2 separate regions of the Homo sapiens genome follow, and region 1 is linked to region 2. The links are contacts of gene promoters, found by promoter capture Hi-C in human tissues and cell types (Jung and others, 2019). All regions are on one chromosome and are shown on one strand. The core of a region is centred on a gene start or on the middle of the fragment in contact, and the rest is flanking DNA. Distances in the headings are between cores, read along the strand shown. Region 1 has its middle 7.1 kb from the start of ACTG1. Region 2 holds the start of BAIAP2 (BAR/IMD domain containing adaptor protein 2).

Region 1 (3,903 bases), core at 1,210-3,709, 470 kb before region 2:
CAACACTTTGGGAGCCTTAGGCAGGCAGATCGCTTGAGCCCAGGAGTCCAAAACCAGCCTGGGCAACATGGCAAAATCCCACAACAAAAGATACAAAAAATTAGCCTGTCCTGGTGGCACACGCTTGTAGTAACCCAGCTACTCAGAAGGGTGAGGTGGGAGGATCACTTGAACCTGGGGAGATTGAGGTTGCAGTCAGCTGTGATTGAGCCACTGCACTCCAGCCTGGATGACAGAGCAAGACCCTGTCTCAAAAAAAAAAAAACAAAAAAAAAAACTGCTGGGAGCAGTGGCTCACACCTGTAATCCCAGCACTTTGGGAGGCTGAGGCTGGCAGATCACGAGGTCAGGAGAACAAGACCATCCTGGCTCTGTCATCCAGGCTGGAGTGCAGTGGTGCAATCTCAGCTCACTGCAGCATCTGCCTCCTGGGTTCAAGCGATTCTCTTGCCTCAGCTTCTCAAGTAGCTGGGATTATAGGTGTGTGCCACCACACCCAGCTGATTTTTGTATTTTTAATACAAACAGAATTTCGATACGTTGGCCAGGCTGGTCTTGAACTCCTGACCTCAGGTGATCCACCCTCCTTGGCCTCCTAAAGTGCTGGGATTACAGGCGTGAGCCACCGCACCCAGCCAATTGTACACTTTTTTTTGAGACAGAGTCTTGCTCTGTTGCCAGGCTGGAGTGCAGTGGTGTGATCTCGGCTCACTGCAACCTCTGGCCCCTGGGTTCAAGCGATTCTCCTGCCTCAGCCTCCCGAGTAGCTGGGACTACAGGCGTGTGCCTGTGTACCTGGTTAATTTTTGTATTTTTAGTAGAGACGGGGTTTCACCATGTTGGCCGGAATGGTCTTGATCCCCTGACCTCAGGTGATCTGCCTGCCTCGGCCTCCCAAAGTGCTGGGATCACAGGTGTGAGCCACTGCGCCTGGCCTGTACACTTTTAAACGATTAAAATGGTAACTTTTATGTTCCATATTTCTTTTTCTTTTTCTTTCTTTTTTTTTTCTTTTTTGAGATGGAGTGTCGCTCTTGTTGCCCAATTGGAGTGCAATGGCGCAATCTCAGCTCACCACAACCTCCACCTCCTGGGTTCAAGCGATTCTCCTGCCTCAGCCTCCCAAGTAGCTGGGATTACAGGCATGCGCCACCGCGCCCAGCTAATTTTGTATTTTCGGTAGAGATGGGGTTTCTCCATGTTGGTCAGTCTGGTCTCAAACTCCTGACCTCAGGTGATCCGTCCACCTCGGCCTCCCAAAGTGCTGGGATTACAGGCATGAGCCACCGCGCCCGGCTGCAACAGCAATATATTGACTCAGAGGAGGACAGGTGCTGCTGAAAGGGGCTGAGAGAATCTGATCCTGGCTCAGCACAGCTGGGGATTGGCCTCCTCCATGGCCTTTTGTTTGTTTGCTTTTGTGTTTTTTTTGGAGACAGCATCTCACTATGTTGCCCAGGCTGAACTCCTGGACTCAATGGTCCTCCTGCTTAGGCCTCCCAAAGTGCTGGGATTACAGGCATGAGCCACTGCACCCAGCCTAGGACTCTTTTTGAAAAAACAACCACAAGCTGGGCGCGGTGGCTCATTCCTGTAATCCCACCACTTTGGGAAGCCGAGACGGGCGGATCACGAGGTCAGGAGTTCAAGACCAGCCTGGCCAACATGGTGAAACCCATCTCTACTAAAAATACAAAAATTAGCCAGGCATGGTGGCGTGCGCCTGTAATCCCAGCTATTCCAGAGGCTGAGGCAGGAGAATTGCTTGAACCCACATGGCAGAGGTTGCAGTGAGCCGAGATTGAGCCACTGCACTCCAGCCTGGGTGACAGAGCAAGACTCTATCTCAAAAAAAAAAAAAAAAAAAAAAAAATCACAGTATCATGCCCCCACCCACCAATTATTGATCGATACTTAGTATCATCTAATGTCCAAATTTCCTTGGTTGTCTTAAATTTTTTGTTGTTGTTTTGTTTGTCTGTTTTTTTGGGGGGACAGGGTCTTGCTTTGTTGCCCAGGCTAGAGTGCAGTGGCACAATCACAGCTCACTGCAGCCTCGACTTCCTAGGCTCAAGCAATCCTCCCACCTCAGCCGCTTGAGTAGCTGGGACTACAGGCGTGCACCACCATGCCCAGATAATTTTTAAACTTTCTGTAGAGATGGGGTCTCCCTATGTTGCTTAGGCTGGTCTCAAGCTCCTGGTCTCAAGAGATCCTCTCACCTCAGCCTCCTAAAATGTGGCGATTACAGGTGTGAGCCACCATGCCCAGCCTTAAATTTCTTTCTTTTTTTTTTTTGAGACGGAGTCTCACTCTGTCACCCGGGCTGGAGTGCAGTGGTGTGATCTCGGCTCGCTGCAAGCTCCGCCTCCTGGGTTCATGCCATTCTCCTGCCTCAGCCTCCCGAGTAGCTGGGACTACAGGCGCCCACCACCACGCCCGGCTGGTGTATTTTTAGTAGAGACGGGGTATTTTTTTTGTATTTTTTTGTATTTTTTTTGTATTTTTAGTAGAGACGGGGTTTCACCGTGTTGGCCAGGATGGTCTCGATCTCCTGACCTCGTGATCCACCCGCCTCGGCCCCCCAAAGTGCTGGGATTACAGGCGTGAGCCACCGCGACCCACCTAAATTTCTTTTAACGGTTGGTTTCCAATCATTGCACTTGGCCACTATGTCTCTTAAATCTCTTTTAACCGCGGGATTTACCCTCTTTCATTTTTCTCCTTTCAGGTTATTTGTGGAAGAAGGCAGGTCTTTTGTTCCAAAGGGTTCCACCTGTCTGGATTTTGCTGATTTCGTCCTTGTGGTTGATGTGGCACGTTCCTCAACCCTTATATTTCCTATAGTCAGTTAGCTCTAGGTGTAAATGTCCAAACTGGTCTGTTTAATCTCATTCAGGTTGATTTTTTTAGCAAGAAGATGACCACAGGGTGGGTGCAACTTCATGGAGAGGGAAAGAGTCCCACAGAGCCTGATGTTGTGATATTAGCAGCCATTGGAAATCCCTGCCAGGACCTGCTATTTCATTAGTGGTTACAAATTATTCTCCCCCTCCACTCCCCTCCCCTCCCTCTTTTCTCCTCTCCTCCTCTCCCTCCCTCCCTCCTTCTCTCCTTCCCTCCTTCCCTCCCTCCCTTTCTTTTTTGATGGAGTCTCACTCTCTCGCCGCTGGAGTGCGGCCTCCGCCTCCAGTTTCCAGCAATTCTCCTGCCTCAGCCTCCTGAGTAGCTGGGACTATAGGCGCCCACCACCACGCCTGGCTAATTTTTTTTTTGTATTTTTAGTAGAGATGGGATTTCACCGTGTTAGCCAGGATGGTCTTGATCTCCTGACCTCGTGATCTGCCTGTCTCGGCCTCCCAGAGTGCTGGGATTACAGGCGTGAGCCACTGCGCCTGGCCTATTTCTTTCTTTTTTTTAATGGAGTTTTGCTCTTGTTGCCCAGACTGGAGTCCGGTGGTGTGATCTCGGCTCACTGTAACCTCCACCTTCTGGGTTCAAGCGATTCTCCTGCCTCAGCTTCCCAAGTAGCTGGGATTATAGGTGCCCACCACCATGCCCCACTAATTTTTGTATTTTCTGTAGAGCCAGGGTTTCACCATGTTGGTTGGCCAGGCTGGTCTTGAACTTCTGACCTCAGGTGATCTGCCCACCTTGGCCTTCCAAAGTGCTGGGATTACAGGCATGAGGCACTGCACCTGGCCTTTTCTTTTCTTTTCTTCTTTTCTTTCCCTTTCTCCCTCCCTTTCTTCTCCCTTCCTTCCTTCCTTCCCTTCTTTCTTTCCCTCCCTCCCTCCCTTCTTTCTTTTTCTTTTTTCTTTCTTTCCTTTTTTCTCTCTTTCTTTTCTTTCTCCTCTTTCTTTCTTGCTTGCTTTCTTTCTTGCTTGCTTTCCTTCTTCCTTT
Region 2 (3,578 bases), core at 32-2,531:
GCCTACCACAATCAGAAACAGTTACTCTGCCGGGCAGGGTGCAAGCCGGTTAGGAAACATGAACCAGCGACTGCCGGGTAAATACCCACTCCACTCATCGCCCAGCCTGTCACTGAACCTGCAGACAGTTTTGAAACAAAGCACATCTGTAAGAGATCGCCCAGGACCCAGGGACACCCAGAGCAGGGGTTTCTCCTCTGAGAAAATGCTCCCCGGCAGCTGCCGGGCTCAGGCGTGGGGGTCTGGACCGAGAACGGATGCTGAAGAAAGAGAAAACCAAGGGCCTGTTTGTCGGTATCCCAGCCACAAAAACGACTGGGGAGGGGGCGGCAGGGGAGGCTTCCAGCGGTGCTCTGCGGCCCTTGGATGTGAACCTGTCATTTCGCAGACGAGAACGTGGATGCCACTCTTAACACATCTGAAGCAAAGGCAGGCACGTCAGCCTCCTACACAATTAGTCTTCTCTCTCCGCGGTTACATAAGATGATAGATTATCCGTCCACCCATCCAGCCTGCCCGCGCTCCGACCTCCCACCTTAGGCCCCAGCATGGGCGCCGGGCAGGAGTTGTGGGAAGGGAAAGCCTGTTGAGAATGAAGTGCCCGAGGCTCGCGCAACCGCGCCTGGAGGAGCCCCACGGTGCCACCGCGCCGACCGCGGCCTTCAGACAGCCCCCATGCCGTCCTGGCCGCCGCAACCCCTGGGCCCGCCGCCCCCGCCGCCCCGGCCCTGCCCGGGTGTGCTACGACCCCGACCGGTCCGAGGGCTTCCGGGGCCCGGCGCGCGGCTCCGTTCCCGCCGACGCCAAGGCGAGCGCGCGGGGGCCGAGCAGGGCCGTCGGAGCGGGGAGTGCTCCCCGGGCCTGGGGCTGGGGACTGACCGGGCCGCGGCGCGCATGGGATGGGGGGGCCCGGGCGGGGGTGGCCACCTGTGAGCGGCCGGCGCCGGGCTCACCACCCCAGCAGCCCGGGTCCCGGGTGGCCGCGCCGGGAAGACCCCCAAAGTCCCAGCCTCCTGGCCCGGCGCGCGGCCCCGGGGCCGCCCTGGTCGGGCTCGGGCGCGCGGGCGGCGCGCGACCCAGGCGCACACGGAGCGGGCTCAGCTCGGCGCCGGGGGGCGCTCACCTTATAGACATTTTCCGTGAGCCGGTGCATCTCCTCTGAGCGAGACAGAGACATGGTCCTGGGTCCCGGCTGCACCACAGACCGGAGCGGGGGACGCAAGCGGCGGCAGCAGCGGCGGTAACGGCAGCAGGACGGAGACGAAAGCGGACCCGAACCACAGAGCCCGGCGTCCGGCGGCGGCCACCTTTATAGCCGCCTCAGGCCCCGCCCCGCGGCAGTCCCCGCCCCTGCGTCCCGCCCCCGTTGCGCCCGCATCACCGCCCCCGACCACCCGCCCCCGCCCGGCGCTGCCGCTGCTAGGCAACCGCCAGGCCCCGCCCCCGCACCGCCCTTTCCATTGGTGGGTTCCGGAGAAGGGGGAGGGGGGCGGGATCGGAGGTGGGGCCTAGTGGCCGACTCCAGGCAGCGATTGGTCTGCGGCGGCGTCGATCCTGGGGGAGGAGAGGGGAGGCGCGGCGCGGGCTGGGGCCCTGGGAGCAGCCTGAGGGGGCCCGGGCAACAGCCGGGCTGGGGGCGGGGAGGCGGGGGCGGGGTGGCGCAGGAAGAAGGAGCAGAAGGTGCGGGGAGGAGAGCGGGGGGCGCCGGCGGCAGCGCGCGTGGAGGCGGCACTTCGCGAAGTGGCACTTCGGGGCGGGCGGCCCGCCGGGTCGCGGCCTGGCGCTGCGGGGCGGGGAGCGGCTCGGACGCAGGACGCCGCGGGCCGGGCTTACAGGTGGGAGAGGCCCCGACCCCGCCGCTTCGCAGGTAAGCCCGCCGGGCGGGCGGCGACCCCCCGGCCGGCCCCTCGGGGCAGAGAGGAGAACCCTGGGGGAGGGGGTGCTGCAGGAGGACCCTGGAGAGAGCTCGGCCCTGGAGTGGGGGACGACTTGGAGAAGGAGGATTTCGGGGGAGCATCGTGAGGAGAGGACTTGGAGGGAGGATCCTGCAGAAGGTGAACTCTGGGGAGGACCCCAGACAGGCAGACAGCGCTTGGGGGCTTGGGGCCGGGATTCTGGAGAGGGGAGGACCCTGGGAGAGGAGGGTTGGGGAAGAGGATCTTGGAGGAGGGCCCTGGGAAGGAGGATCTGGAGAGGGGACAGGGGAGTGTCCTGCTGGAAGGCCTGGGGACAGGGCGACCCTTAGGGACGGGGAGGACCCTCCTGCCGTCAGAAGATTCTCGTTGGAGGCAGTTTACTGAGAGAGAGAGGTCTCGGGAAGGAAGGGTCGAGGGCAGTAGGAAACGAGGGGCCCGGAGGACTCTCATGCGGTGGAAAGCCCTAGGGGGTGGGGGAACCTTGTAGGAGGAATGGAGGAGTCAGAGCTGCCTCCAATTTTTAGGAAGGGTCCTGCTTAAGGGTCCTCCCAAGGGGAGATTCTGCCGGGGAAGCTGGCCGAGTTGGCACACAGGTCTCCCGGTACAATTCCCGTGGAGAAATATTTACATAAATTAGGCTAACATAGAGGAATTATTTGTTTTACGTTGTGAAACACCAGATCTGAGCGTTTCCGTTTAATGAAACCTCTCAGTCTCCCAGCCTCCCATCCCTGCAAAATCATTCATTCATTCATTCCTTCAACGAGTCAGGCCCCTGGGGGAGACGCAGTTGTGCTGGCTGGCCGGCAGATCCCCAGACTGGCACGGGCTCAGGCCGATGGAAAGACCAGGGAAGTAAGATTCAGGAAGCATTGCCTCCCTCCCACCACAGCCCCGCGCCTCCTCTCCTCCGGCTGAATTTCCTTCCAGCTACTGGCCCTGGCTGCTTCCTTTTTCTTTATTGTCTCCAGTGTTTGGGGGTAGATCCCTGTGTATTTATTTTCTAGGATTCTTTTGGTGGTAAATGACAGAAAGCTCGCTCAAACTGGCCCTAACAAATGAGGGCATTTACCTGAAGGTAGGAGCATCTCCACTGACCCTGACCCCCTTCTTCTAGGCCAGCTTCCTGCTGTGTTCCCTGCACCCACCGATCTCACACGCAGCCCTAGGACAGACGTCCACTGGCCTGAGTTGGGTCTGGGGCCAACACGGAGCAGGTGGGGGTAGAGCAGCTCTGCTCGCCTGGAGGAAAGTTGAATGGCTGGAACCAAGATGACAGATGGAGGCTGGCAGGCAAACACGGGAGGCCTCCTCACTCCAAGAGGGGAGTCAGCCTGGGGACAGTTCTTCTCCAGGCCCTGCTGCTCCCATCAGCTGCAACACAGGAGAGGTAGGCTTCTCCGGAAAAGCTCCCACGGTCCTGGATCCCGCTCCACCTTCTAGAAGCTCCCAGCGTTACTTCCTGAGCTGGCCTGCACATCGTTGCGCTACTCCCGTCCAAGGGGGGACATATTCGGTGACCGACTCAGAACGCAGCCTGCTTCCCGGGTGGCCAGTGGCTCAGCAGTCTCGGTGCCTGAGCCTGCTCCCTCCGCCCGGCGGCTGGGCAGGTGGCTGAATGCGGGCTGGAGGCCTTCCCTGAGAAGACGGTTATCCATGCTG

Evidence for each region. Contacts are between HindIII fragments. The study calls those that stand out against the background at their distance.
Region 1: a contact is called between a fragment that was not itself captured here and the fragment with the promoter of BAIAP2 in region 2, in 1 of the 25 tissues and cell types used here (dorsolateral prefrontal cortex).

The regions. Positions count from the first base shown.
Region 1 is chr17:81,503,765-81,507,667 of GRCh38, reverse strand. No RefSeq gene overlaps it. Among named protein-coding and RNA genes, the nearest start is that of ACTG1, 7.1 kb to the left of the region's middle. The HindIII fragment of the contact is 9,311 bases long and covers 1-3,903 here.
Region 2 is chr17:81,032,854-81,036,431 of GRCh38, reverse strand. It overlaps BAIAP2 (BAR/IMD domain containing adaptor protein 2), which reads right to left and starts at 1,281. Exons shown (of 14, transcript NM_001144888.2): 1 at 1,124-1,281. The coding sequence starts at 1,177. BAIAP2-DT (BAIAP2 divergent transcript) reads left to right here and starts at 1,713. Exons shown (of 2, transcript NR_026857.1): 1 at 1,713-1,867; 2 at 3,034-3,578. RefSeq lists an enhancer at 469-1,464 and a silencer at 1,336-1,645. The HindIII fragment of the contact is 14,233 bases long and covers 1-3,578 here.